Regions from separate parts of the Homo sapiens genome. Here regions 1 and 3 are each linked to region 2. The links are contacts of gene promoters, found by promoter capture Hi-C in blood cells and fetal thymus (Javierre and others, 2016). All regions are on one chromosome and are shown on one strand. Each heading gives the region's core, a stretch centred on a gene start or on the middle of the fragment in contact. The rest is flanking DNA. Distances are from core to core; before and after follow the strand shown. Region 1 has its middle 63 kb from the start of MINDY3. Region 2 holds the start of C1QL3 (complement C1q like 3). Region 3 has its middle 21 kb from the start of MINDY3.

What was found. Contacts are between HindIII fragments. The CHiCAGO score rates a contact against its expected background, and 5 or more counts as called.
Region 1: a fragment that was not itself captured here is called in contact with the fragment with the promoter of C1QL3 in region 2 in 3 of 17 cell types (endothelial precursors, megakaryocytes and M2 macrophages); the score reaches 9.6 in endothelial precursors.
Region 3: a contact is called between a fragment that was not itself captured here and the fragment with the promoter of C1QL3 in region 2, in 7 of 17 cell types (endothelial precursors, M1 macrophages, M0 macrophages and 4 more). The highest score is 12.2, in endothelial precursors.

The regions. Positions count from the first base shown.
Region 1 is chr10:15,921,314-15,925,850 of GRCh38, forward strand. No RefSeq gene overlaps it. Among named protein-coding and RNA genes, the nearest start is that of MINDY3, 63 kb to the left of the region's middle. The HindIII fragment of the contact is 925 bases long and covers 1,354-2,278 here.
Region 2 is chr10:16,520,131-16,524,561 of GRCh38, forward strand. C1QL3 (complement C1q like 3) reads right to left here and starts at 1,749. Exons shown (of 2, transcript NM_001010908.2): 1 at 348-1,749. The coding sequence starts at 935. RefSeq lists an enhancer at 1-300 and silencers at 600-659, 970-1,189, 1,460-1,689. The HindIII fragment of the contact is 3,157 bases long and covers 1-2,561 here.
Region 3 is chr10:15,879,057-15,883,824 of GRCh38, forward strand. No RefSeq gene overlaps it. Among named protein-coding and RNA genes, the nearest start is that of MINDY3, 21 kb to the left of the region's middle. The HindIII fragment of the contact is 2,358 bases long and covers 807-3,164 here.

The DNA.
Region 1 (4,537 bases), core at 566-3,065, 600 kb before region 2:
GCGGGCGCCCCTCCCCCAGCCTCGTTGCCGCCTTGCAGTTTGATCTCAGACTGCTGTGCTAGCAATCAGCGAGATTCCGTGGGCGTAGGACCCTCTGAGCCAGGTGTGGGATATAGTCTTGTGGTGCGCCGTTTTTTAAGCCGGTCTGAAAAGCGCAATATTCGGGTGGGAGTGACCCGATTTTCTAGGTGCGTCCGTCACCCCTTTCTTTGACTCGGAAAGGGAACTCCCTGACCCCTTGCGCTTCCCAGGTGAGGCAATGCCTCGCCCTGTTTCGGCTTGCGCACGGTGCGCGCACACACTGCCTGCGCCCACTGTCTGGCGCTCCCTAGTGAGATGAACCCAGTACCTCAGATGGAAATGCAGAAATCACCCGTCTTCTGCGTCGCTCACGCTGGGAGCTGTAGACCGGAGCTGTTCCTATTCGGCCATCTTGGCTCGGGAAGTGTCGCTGAATTCTCTTATGTACATAATCATGTTTTCTGCTAATAGTGACAATTTCATTCTTTACTTTCCAATAATTATGAAATTTAAAAATATTTATTTTGTTGTTCTTACTGCTTTGGCTAGAACGTTTACTACATTGTTGTACAACATGGTGAAAATTGATAGTCTCGCTTTTTTCCTGATTGTAAGGGGCAGGGCTTGATATTGAACTATTGGTATAATTGCAGCAGCAGAAATTTTTTTAATCAATGAGGAGTGCTGACTTTTGTCAAATACTTTACTACATCTTTTGAGGTAATTACATAATTTTTCTCATTCATTTTGTTAATATGTTGAATTACATTGATTGATATTTGAATGTTAAGCCAGCCTTACACTTTGGGGATCAGGGGAGGAAAACTCCACCTAGTAATGATGTATTTATTATTCTTTTGATATATTCCTGGGTTTAAATTGCAGTATCTTATTGATTTTTGTGTCTATGATCATGTGGGTTATTTGTCTGTAATAATATTTTTGAAATGTTTAATTAGTTTTTTAAAAAAACCATGTGGCTTCATGAAATCAGTAGAGAAGATTTTTTTGCCTCCTCTATTTCTTGAGACAATTTGTATATAATTTTTATTATTTCATATTACTTATTTGCCCAATTTTAAATTGGGATTTTTTGTTGTCGTTTTTGAGTTTTAGAAGTTTTCTATATAGCCTGGATTTTAATCCCTTATCAGAATCAGATATGTAATTTGGAAATCTTTTCTCCCAATCTGTGTGTTGTCTACTTACTATGTTGATAGTGTCTTTTGATGTATGTTAAAAAATTCACGAAGTCCAATTTTTCTATTTTTTTTCTTTTGTTGCCTATACTATGATGTCACATTCAAATCATTGCCAAACTCAATCTCATAAAGCTTTCCCTGTGGTTTTTTCTAAGAGTTACATAGTTTTAGGCCTCACATTTAGGTACTTGATTTATTTTGAGTTAATTTTTTAATATAATGTTAGGTAAGGGTTCAACTTTGTTCTTTTGCATGTGGATATACATTTTTTTTCCAGGGCCATTTGTTGAAAAGACTGATTATATATTAGGGATTGTTTCTGGGCTCTCTAATCTATTCCATTGCTCTATATGTCTGTCTTTATGCCAGTAATACACTATTTTGTTACTGCAGTTTTATAGCAAATTTTGAAATCCGGAAGTGTGAGTCCTCTAGCTTTGTTCTTTTCTCAAGATTGCTTTGGCTATTCTGCAGCCCTTGAGATTCTATATGAATTTTAGGATAAGGTTTTCTTTTTCTGCAAAAAGTAGGAATTTTGATTGGATTGTGTTGAATCTGTAAATCACTTTGGATAGAATTAACATATTAAAAATATTAATTATTTCAATCCATGAACATGGGATACGTTTTCCATTTACTTATCTTTTAAAATTTCTTTCCGCAGGATTTTGTGGTTTTCACTGTATATGTCTTTTACTTCCTTTGTTAGTCCCTAAGTATTTTGATCTTTTTGATGCTATTGTAAATAAAATTTTTTTTTATAATTTTTTTCATATTGTTAAAATGTTAGTACCTAGAAATACAGCTGATTTTTTGTGCATTAATTTCTGCTACTTTGCTGAATTCATTTATTAGTTCTGTCAGGTTTTTTCGTAGAATCTTCAGAGTTTTCTACATACAAACTTATATTGAGAGATAATTTTATATCTTCTTTTCAAATTTAGATGCATTTATTTATTTTTCTTGCTTCGTTGCTCTGGGTAGAACTTCCAGTACAATATTGAATAGAGGTGGTTAAAGCTGGCATTCTTACCTTCTTTCTGATCTTAAGGAAAAGCTTTTGGTGTTTCACCGTGAAGTAAAATGTTCATTGTGGTTTTTTCTTATATGGCTTTTATTATGTTGAGGTAGTTTTCTTCTATTACTAGTTTGTTAAGTGTTTTCATTATGAAAGAGTGTTGAATATTGTCAAGTACTTTTTCTACATCAATTGACATGATCGTTTTTTTCTTCATTCTTGAATGTGGTGCATTGCATTGATTGATTTTCTTATATTTAACTCTTCTTGTATCCCAGGAATAAATGATATTTGGTCATGGTGTAAAATTATTTTAACATGCTGCCTAATTCAGTTTGCCAGTATTTTGTTAAGGATTTTTGCATCGATGTTTACAAAGGATATTGGCCTGTAATTCTCTTTGTCTGGCTTTAGTATCAGAGTAATGTTGGCCTCACATAAAGAGTTAGAAAATGTTCTCGCCTTTTCAACTTTTTGGAAAAGTTTGAGAAAAATTTGTGTTCTTTAAATGTTCAGAAGGATTCACCAGCAAATCCACTGTGTCCAGGGCATCTCTTTGTCAGGAGATTTTTTATTACTGATCTAATCTCCTTACTAGTTATAGGTCTATTCAGATTTTTTATTTATTCCTAATTTTGTCTTGGTAGGTTTTGTGTTTCTAGGAGTTTGTCCATTTCATCTAGGATATACAATTTGTTGGCATACAATTATTTAGAGTGTTCTCTTATAATCCTTATTCTTTCTTAGAATTGGTGATATCTCCAATTTCATTTCTTATTTAATAATTTGAGTCTTCTCTATTTTTTTTGATTAGTCTAACTAAAAGTTTGTCAATTTTGTTGATCCTTTTAAAGAAACAACTTTTGGATTTGTTGATTTTCTCCAGTGCTTTTTAATTTTCTATTTTATTTACCTCTGCTCTAATTTTCATTATTTCTCTCCTGCTAGCCTTGGGTTTAGTTTGCTCTTCCTTTCCTAGTTTCTCAAGTTATAAATTTAGGTTGTTGATTTGAGGCCTTTCTTGTTTTTTAATAAAAGTGTTTATAAATTTAACCATTGACACTCCTTCTACTGTGTTCCATAAGTTGTGCTATACAATATCTAAGGATTTTCTAATTTCCCTTTGAATTAGTTTCTTTTGTTGATCCATTGGTTAAGAGCATACTGTTTAATTTTGAGAAATCTGTAAATTTTCCAGTTTCACTTGTTGATTTCTAACTTCATTCCATTGTGGTCAAAGAGAGTATTTTGTGTTATATGTATTTAAAAAAATATACTGAGAGTTAATTCTTAGCCTGACACATGCTCTATTTTGGAAAATGTCTCATGCACTTGGGAAGAATATATAGAGAGTTCTCTATATATCTGTTAGATCTAGGTTTTGTTGTTGTTGCTGTTAAGTCCTCTATTATTTTACTTATTTTTTTTCTGGTTGTTCTATTAATTATTGAGGGTAGGGTATTGGAATCTTCACCTACTATTATAGAACTGCCTACTCTTCTCCTCAATTTTGTCAGTTCTTGGTTCACATATTTAGATAGTCTGTCATTAGCTGCATATATGTTTTTGATTGTTATATCTTCTTGCTGTCTTGACCCTTTTATTGATATATAGCGTCCTTTTTGGCTTTTGTAGTCTGTTTTGATGTAAGGTCTATTTTGTCTGATTTTCCTATGGCCACCCCTGTTCTCTCTTGGTCATTATTTGCATGAAATAGCTTCTTTCATCCTTTGATTTGCAATCTTTTTATGTTTTTTGATCTGAAATAAGTTTCTTATAGACAACATAGAGTTGGATCTTGTGTTAAAATCGATTCTGCCAATACCTGTTAGTTGGGGAATTTAATCCATTTATATTTAAAGTAATTATTGATAAGAAGATACTTTTTATTTTGCTATTTGTCTACATGCCTTATAGCAATTTTGTCCCTCATTTTCTGCATTACTCTCTTTTATGTTCAGCTGATTTTTTATAGTGAAATGTTTAAATTCCTTTCTTATTTTCTTTGTATGTGTTCTATAGCTTTCCTTTGCTGGTACCATGGAAATTACATTTAATATCCTAAAGTTATAGCATGCTAATATGAATTTATATCTGTTTAACTTCAATAATAGACAAAATGCTGCTCCTTTAACAGCTCCATCCTCACCTGTTTCAGTTATTGAGGTAAAAAATTACATATTTATTTATTGTGTGCTAAAAAACATAAATAATTCTTTTTAGTGCATTAGCCTCTTAAATTATTTAGAAAACCAGATATAGAATTAAAAACCAAAGTTACAATAATTCTAGCTTT
Region 2 (4,431 bases), core at 499-2,998:
CCACGGCCAGGGGTCGCTTCCCGCGCCGGGACTCCCCAGCGCACGAGCTGTCCCCGGGACCCAGCTCCCGGCTTCCCGCCCCTCGAGGGTCGCGCTCGCAGGGGCGCGCACCGATCGAGGGTCCCAGACTCCGGAACTGCCCTCTCCAGGCCGCGGGGCGCCCTCCTGCGCGCACGACCCCCGCCTCTCCAGGGTGGGACGGCGTCCCCCCTTGCCGTCGCTCCAGGGAGCCCGGCCGCCGCGCCCTTCCTCCGCGGGCTCCCACCCCCATTTCCGGGGTCTCCTCCCTCTCGCCCGCACCTTCCCGCGCTCCCTCCCCGCCCTCCCCGCCGCCCGCCCGCGCTCACCTGGTTGTTTTTGCAGAGATCAGCCCACATGCTGGTGCCGTCCCCTCCGCGCATCAGGACGTGGTAGGTGAAGAAGTAGATGCCCGGGATGGAGCAGGTGAACTTGCCGGTGGTGGGGTCGTAGTGGTTTCCGAGGTTGGTGACCACGTCGTCGAACTTGAGCACCTCGTAGCCTTCATGCTGCCGCTTGAGGCCGGCGTAGAAGGCGATCTTGGGCACCGTGCTGTAGGTGGCGGCGCTGATGGCCCCGGCCGCGTTCAGGCCGGGCGCCCCGGGCGGGCCCGGCAGGCCTTGGCGGCCCGGCTCGCCCTTCTCGCCCGGGGGCCCCATGGGGCCGGGTGGCCCGGGCTCTCCGGGGGGCCCGCGCGGACCCGCCTTCCCGGGCCTGCCGGCCTCGCCTTTGGGGCCCTGGATGAAGGTGGGCAGGGACTGCATGAGGCCGCGGTCGGGCGTGGCAGCGGTGCTGGGCGCCTTGGTGCCCCCGTAGGGGTCGCAGACCATGCGGCAGGTGCCCAGCATCTCGTAGTGCGCCGACGTGCCGGCCGAGCTCACCAGCACCGGGATGAGGATCACCAGCAGCAGCACCATCACCACCCCCAGCGCCCCGGCGGCGATCAGGCGCCTCCTGCTGCCCACCAGCCGGCTCAGCGCGGGGCGATCCTCTTGTCTGCTTTTGGACAGAATTTTGAAGGTTGGGCGGGGACCTCTTCAGAGCCGAAAACAACCCCCTGCGAACCCCAACTCCCCTGGGCGTGCGTGCGCCGGCCGCTGCTGCCGACTCCTGCTCCCCCCGCGGAGGCTGCGGCTGGGGAGGGAGCGCGGGCGCCCAGTGACTTGAGCCGAAGTCCCGAGCCCGGGGTGGGGGCCGGGGGAGGGGTGCGCGGGGCGCCCTCGCCCCCCGCGAGCTCCTTCGCACCTGTGGCTGCAGCCGGCGCCGGCGCGGCCACCGGGAGGGCAGAGCCAGCCGCCGCCTCCTGAGCTCGCCCGGGCAGCTCACACTTTTATGCCGCCGCCGCCTGCGATCGACTTTTCCGTTTTTGCAGACTGCGCCTGTTCGCACCAACTTTCCGTCTGAAGTTGCCTTTTTCTGCCTCCTCCTCCTCTTCTTTCGCTCGCTCAGTTCGCCCGTCCGCTGCCTTTTTTTTTTATTGCCTCCTTTCTCTCTTCCTCCTTTGCCACCACCACAACTCGAATAGACGCGCACCCCAAAGCCCCGCGTGGGCCCGGGCGTCCCCCGGGTGCGCCCAGCGGCGGCGGCGGCGGGCACGGTCGGCACGGCGAGGCTCAGAGCTGGGGCGGAGGAGCGAGCGAGCAGCGGCGAGCGCCTCACGGCCGGGAGCGGAGCGAGAGAGAGACTGAAGGCAGAATTCTGCCTGGGTACCACCTGCCAGGAGAAGAGGAGGCTGACAAACGCGCGCCGGAGCAATTTATAGGCACCCAAGGCACAGAGGAAGGGGAGCCGCTTTGGCATCTCATTGCAGCATCTGCTCTGCTCATCCCACTCAGAGAGAGTTTGGCATTACTCTGACAATGTGGGATTTTTTTTTTTTTTTCGGCCTCTCTTTTTTTCTCTCTCTGCACATGGATGAACAGTGAGATTCTGAATACTCCCTTGCTGAACCAAGCGATGGCAGGTCCTGCTGGACCCACCTGGGGAAGGGAGACAGCTGTGCGACAGCTTTCAGAGCTCAAGGGTCACACCTAAATCCCCGATTTCCCCACTGCCAGCAGCCCCAGTTGGAGGGTGGAGGTGAAGGTTGAAAGGAGGGTGGCTGAGTTGACAGTTTCTTTGCTAGCTCCTCTACAATCAGTGCTTCAGGTGTTTTCAAAATGCCACTGTTAACAGAAGGAGGGCCTTTTAGAATTTTCCAGATGGTAGATGTGATTTTCTTTTAACCTGATGGTTTTCCTCCTCTGCCTTGTAAATGAATAAGATGTTGCCCCAAGAACAGTGAGGTATGTTGAAAAGCCAAAGAACATTTGTGAATGATTTTAAATGAACATGTCCACCGCCTCTGGGGGAGGAGGGGGTTGGTCCTTTTTACAAATGCTGCACCGTGGTGAGTGCATACATACGTACTGTGCTTACAGTCTTACAGTTCTAGCAGTCTTTCGGGGGATACCGCCAATGGCCCTGAAGTTGCGTTTACTTAAAGTCGCTAAATGTACAAGAAATAACCACTTGTCAAAATGGCGTCAAAAGATCAAGCAAGAAGCTTTTGCACAAGTGCTGGGCAAGGTCTTTTCCTAGCATATGGAAAGAGTTCTATAAGCTCCATAGCAGATTTCCCGAATATACATTGAGGGAGGGGAGAAGTAGGAGAAATACAAGAAAGAAGAGCCCCCATTCTCAGTGGGTGAGCTGCAGAAGGAACAGCATGGTTTATCATATTACTGGAAGGCCTCCAGGGTAGATATCAGGCAAGTTACCCCACCAACAAATACATAAGACACACAAGAATGGCTTTAAATAAATAAGTAGAATTGAATCCTAAATCATACTTTTGCATTCAGGAGCAACAGATGTCAATCAAACGTGGGTGACATTTGCTTGTCAATACGAGGATGATGGCTGGGAAGACGGTGACTTATTACATCAGGGTGAGAATCTGAAATGAGAAAAGCAGGAACAAATAAGACTACAGCAAGCAAACAGTAACATCCTGGGTGACGATCAGCAGCCTGTGATCTTGTCTGCGGGTGTCACAGCATGGACTTCTCCTTTCCTCCCTGTGCCTCAATCTCCCCGCCCCCCAGCCTACTCCAGTCCACCCCACCAATTTAGTTCTTTCTTTCTTTCTTTCTTCTCTGTTTCAAAACAAAATAAGGTCAAACGAGCAGACAGAAGGAAACAAAGACTGAATGATTCTTTTAAGAGAAATGTCAGTAGCTCCTTCAGGCCTTGGCTGGGAGAATCAACCCTAAAAGCTGTGCTGTGTGGCTCAGCGGGGTGGGGGTCTCCACCTCCTGGCTACTGAGAGAGCCACACTGCTCCTGGTATTGGAAAATAGGGCTTCCCACTTCTCAAGCCCTTAACTTTTATTTTAGGGTAGTGGTTTTATAAATGCGCGCCTATTGCTTGGGCATAATTATACACATAGTTCCATAATATTTTTGTTCACATGAGCTGCCTTATTTTCATATTTTTAAGGAGCAAACACATAATAAGTTGTCTCCTGGCCATAATACTTACTTTCCTAACACACCTTCTGGATTGCTTCTTAAAAGTCACCTTCCTTTTGGAGGACAAAATGGTGAGGTTTGCTGCCAGCACTGGGGGGGTAGGATATTAATAAAACTCTGATGCACCAGATTATCAAATTTCATAAGGCCTCTCTATTGCTATGAAGAGTTCTGTAGGTGACACAAAAGGAGTTTTTAAAAGGTAGAGATGTATAGAGAAGTTCTCATCAAAACCTCAAGCTATGTGGAGTTTTCCCATTGACTAACGCTTAAGATATATTGGAGTCAAATGCTCATAAAATGCTCATCAATGCTTATAAAATATTAAGAGTTGAAATGGACTCTCTGTTCATGCAGATGATGAGACCGAAACAGAGAGCTTCCAGGAGGATCAATGCCATTCAATGAGCTTGCTGCTGTACTCCCCTCTACACAATATGGATATATCCCATCCCAGCCCGAGACTGGCCATACTAGTTCTAGTAACTGAGGCTTTCCTCCTACTTTCTCTGACGCCAAAGCAAATTTGATTTTGCAAGTGAGTGCCCTCACATTTTAAAGCTCTGCTGAGATTTAGAAAGGCACTCAGCAGTCATCATTCATCATGAAGTCACTCCCTCCCAGGCCACGTGGCTGACCCCAGACTTTCTATTAACTGCACAAGCCTGGGCAACACATGGATATTTGGCTCTGTAGTGAAGCAAATTTAAATTCTTGGTCTCCTTCCTCTCCTCCAGAAGTATCTCACTGTGCACTTTGGGGGAACCTTTTGGTTCCCCCACAATTTTCAAGGATGACTTGGTAGTAAACGAACTTATGGCTGGTTACTGAGACTTTCTACTGCTTGAATTTCCCAGAAGGTTCTCTGCAAAGTTACTCACGCTTCAGCTCTTGTTCTGAC
Region 3 (4,768 bases), core at 736-3,235, 640 kb before region 2:
TCTCACTGATATATTATCTGTTCAATGGTCAATGACCTATGTTCTATCCCTTGATTTAAAATTCCAGTAAACATTTGATATTGTGTTGCAGTCTTAGGATTCAATTCTGCCATTCCATCAACAGGTGGTGCCATTGTATTATAATTTGAATGTTGTGAAAGAAAAATATTTTGTCGTTACTTGCACTGATAAGCATCTCAGCTTTTTTAGAGCTGCTTTTGCACCCTGAGAAACTTTGACTTTAGGGTTTTAAAAAATGTTATATGGTTAAAGTTATATTGCAGAGCAAAACTGCCTGAATTCTTCTCATGTATATTAAGTCTAGAAATTGCACACTATATGTCTGCTATTTTGTCTACAAAGTCATGAAAAACCGAAAATAATATTCATAATAGGTAGTTATAGATTCTGATATATAGAGAATATCTGCTTTAATATTTTTGTTCCTGAAAATTCTCATCTTATTTTCATTTTATAAATTTAAAAAACTACTGGGTATTAGTAAAAAAAAAATTCACGTTTTTTGCAATACCAAGGAAAGCAAGTCAAGATTTGTGTTTTTTTCTTTACATATACCATTAAATATAACATGGGACATGGGTCACAGCTCTGCCAAAAGATCTCTTTGTAGCTATGTGTTGCCAGAAACAACACTGTGGAGATCCCTTTCGAGTTGTGGCAAGTCATGTGGACAGCTTGAGATGGGTAACCTCATATGCCCTGTCATAAAGAGAAGAAAGAAAGGATGACATCAGACTCTACCCCATTCTTTGTTCTGCCTGCAATTCACTGTTGTAAACTGGCAAAGCTTTTTCCTCAAGGGTAGTTGTCAAAGTCACAGCATGATCACAGGAGGTGGTAATAGGAAGTTGGCATGAGCCACTGACAGAGAAATTAGTTTGAGACTTCTTGTGATTCTCCTCAGGGATTTCAGCAACAGCCAGCTCTTCTAAGCTAATTAGTCCTACATTGTTGTAATGGATGATCAGAAAAAACAGTAATTGAAAATGATACAGTTCTTTAGTAATGCTAAAACTGTAAACAACAGAAATATCAAGAAATGAAACAAACATTTAGAACCATTTGGATAAATTGGATGAATAGGTTAGCAGATGAAAAATTCAGTTTCAAAGTAGACAAAATAAGATTTATTTGGGAGCAGACATCCAAGTTAGGGGCTATATATTAAATGATGCAATTATCAATACACTGAACATATTCTTTCTTTTATTAATAGACTGGGAAATATTCTTAAAATCATTTTCCTTTGGTTTAAGTTTGAATGTGTAGTTTTCATTTACACAGCATATATCTGTGGTTCACAGACACATTCTGAAATTTATTCTTGAGTTTATTCTCATTCATTCTTATTATGCAACTCTGTCACAATCCCCATTTCACAATTAAGATACATTTTCAAAAGTTACTCTGAAAGTAAGAGTTGGAGCCCAGACTTAAAAGCTGGATCTCTCTAAATTATGTTCTCTTTTTTATTCCACAATGGAGACTGAACAGATGAAATTTTAACTCTAACTATAGTTGCTCTGTTGTAGAGTAAGTGAATAAGTTTAGAGGACAAATACAGTGTATAGAATAGTACAAATGTTACTTTTATTTGTTTATTCCTTTTAGACATGGGAGTCTTACTAGGTTGCCCACGCTGAAGTGCAGTGGCTATCCACAGGCGTGATCATGCCGCACTACAGCCTTGAATTGCTGGGCTCGTGATCCTCATGCTTCAGCCTCCTGAGAAGCTGGGACTATAGGCACATGCCACTGCATCTGGCTACAAATATATGTATTTGTATTTGTACATATATATTTGTAAAATATATATATTTATATTTGTACAAATATATGTTTGCATATATATTTTAATATATATAATAAAAATATATATATATTTTGAGACAGAGTCTCGCTCTGTCACCAGGCTGCAGTGCAGTGGCACGATCTCAGCTCACTGCAACCTCTACCTCCCAGATTCAAGTGATTCTCCTGCCTCAGCCTCCCGAGTAGCTAGGACTACAGGCATGCACCACCATGCCCAGCTAATTTTTGTATTTTTAGTAGAGACGGGGTTTCACCATGTTGGCCAGGATGGTCTTGATCTCTTGACCTCGTTATCCGCCTACCTCAGGCTCCCAAAGTGCTGGGATTACAGGCGTGAGCCACCGCCCCCCGCCAAGTGTTGTTTTTATTAAATTGTGATAATAGATATTTTCCCCCTATCCTTTCCATGAATTGTGTTGCCATATGGTTCTATCTTCAATAAGGTTTAAATTGTGCATGCAGGACCTCTTTGACTTTCAGATCTGGCATTTTTTTTTTTCTAATTGGGGTAGTAAGTGAAGAGCGGAAAATATACTTTTGCCTGGCACAAAAGAGAATGAGGGCAGATCCAAGACTTATTTTGTTATTATTCAATTCCCATCTGCCATTACACTCTCTTAAAGTTTGTTTGCAGTTTCTTATCCATTCTGTGAGAGATAACAGAGTACACTTTTGCCCTTTTTCCTTTATGTCAGGGAAGTGAACAGTGATTTTTTTAATGAGGATGAACTTTTAATTTTGAGACTTTATATTTCTTGATAGCAGTAAGCATGCTTTTTATTCGTTAAAAATTATAGCTCTTAATTGTTTTTACAGAAATTTTATGCAAAGTGGTCATATATTATATTGCATCATATTCTTTAACTTAGAACTGATAAAAATGAGAGTTTGATTTATCCTTGTTGAAGTTCCTAGAAAACAGACTTGGAGCTGCAAGAACACAACACACTTCCCCTGGAAAATACTCAAAGAAGTAAATCTCTGGACATTGTTTACAGCCCTAGTAGGATACAAGAAGAAATGTTCCTTATTTAGAAAAAGAATCATAAAGCTAGGAAATATTAGCTAAAATGTCAATAAGTAGGGAAGAAAAGAGAGAGGGATGGTAGAAAAATGCAGATCTCCATAAATGTGGCTGTGATAGCTTGGGCTGCCATGGAAAATACCACTGAAGGAGTGGCTTAAACAACAGACCTTCATTTTCTCACAGTTATAGAAGCTGGAAGTCCAAGGTTAAGGTGTAATCAGGGTTCGTTTTTGTGAGGCCTCTCTTCTTAGCTAATAGGCGGCTGCCTTCTCTCTGTGTGGTCACACAGCCTTTCCTCTGTGCAAGCTTGGAGAGCACACTCGCTCTCCCTTCTTCTTCTTGGAATGTCACCAGTTCTATGGGAGGTCCCATTCTTATGACTACTTAACCTTCATTACCCCCTTAAAGGCACTATCTGTAAATATAGTCACACTGGGGAGTTAGAGCCTCATCATATGCATTTGGGGGGTGACACAGCTCTGCCCACGACAATGACCTTAACACTAGGATAGTTGTTTTGCAGAATGTCACTCGATCTGAGTTTGTTTCATGTTTCCTCATGAGGAGATCTAGGTTATGGATTCTGGGTGGGAGTCTCTCACAGGGGATATTGTGCTCTCACTGCATTCTCTCATGTGATTTTAATTTGTCCAATGGTGTTTACTTTGATCACCTGAGTGACAAAAGTGGTGACTCTCAAGACTTCTCTATTATAAAGTTTCTTGATGTGTTGCTAAATAACAGTTAGTAAGCATGGTTTTAGCTTGGAAAAACTGATACACCTCTTAACAGAAGTAGAGATGCCAGAAAATCCATGAGAGATTGTGGAGAAAGGGGTGTTCAAGGACTTGAAAATGCTATAATGAGTCTACTGTACCTAACCAGAAAACCCACCAGCTGACTGTCCTCAGGAGGGTCTAGAAAATACTACATTTGCCCAATTGATAAGAAATGCCCTGGTGAGGTGAAGGGGCACCAGCATTTTGAGAACCTCAGGAAAGTCTGTCTTCTGTAGGTTGGGGCTGAAGGTAGCTGATGGTGTTGCAGAACCGAGCATTTTAGTAGCAACGAGGGTACTAGATCCCAGGAAAGCAGAGGCCAGGAGGCAGCCTTTAAGAATCAGAAGAAAGATGAACATAATTACTATAACAGGTAGCAAGACTGGAATTTCATTCAGGGGAAACTGATCTGCAGGGAACTTGGGAGATGACATGGTTCTCCTAAGGGCAAGAGTGCTGAGCCGTTGTCACAGGTTGGGTTTTCTAGAAAGAGGCTGGTGTTTAGGAAGCAGGTTGTTCACTCAGGTATGTCCTTGGGATTGAAACTCATGAAACTGAGGGAAAGAAAGTGGCATTAAGCCGAGGGAAATGAACTTCATACAAGCCTGGCTGACCCGCAGGGTAAGCTGTGAAACTCACATAGTTTTTTAGCAGTGTTCCAAGTTGGGTTGGGATGGCCAGGCCTTATTGTCCCACACTGATCAATGAATAGATGTTGGCCACCTTGGGAAGGGGCAGGTATTAGTCAGGATTCTGCAGAGGAACAGAACTAATGGGACAGACATCTGAATCTCCATCTCGCTCCAGAGATTTATTATAAGGTATAGGCTCATATGACTGTAGAGGCTTATGGAGGCTGATTCTGGAGGCGGATGTGATTCTACCACCTGCAAGCTGGAGATCCAGGAAAGCTGGTTCTCTAGATTCCACTCCAAGACTGAAGGCCTGAGAAGCAGGAGTGCTGAGTGCAGGGGAAGATCAATGTCCAGGCTCCAGCAATCAGATAAGGAGGGAATTCAAACTTTCTTCCCTTTTTTTGTTTTATTCAGGTCCTCGATGGATTGGATGATGCCCATTCACATTGGGGAGGGCATCTTTTTTACTCAGTCTACTTTGTCAAATGCTAATC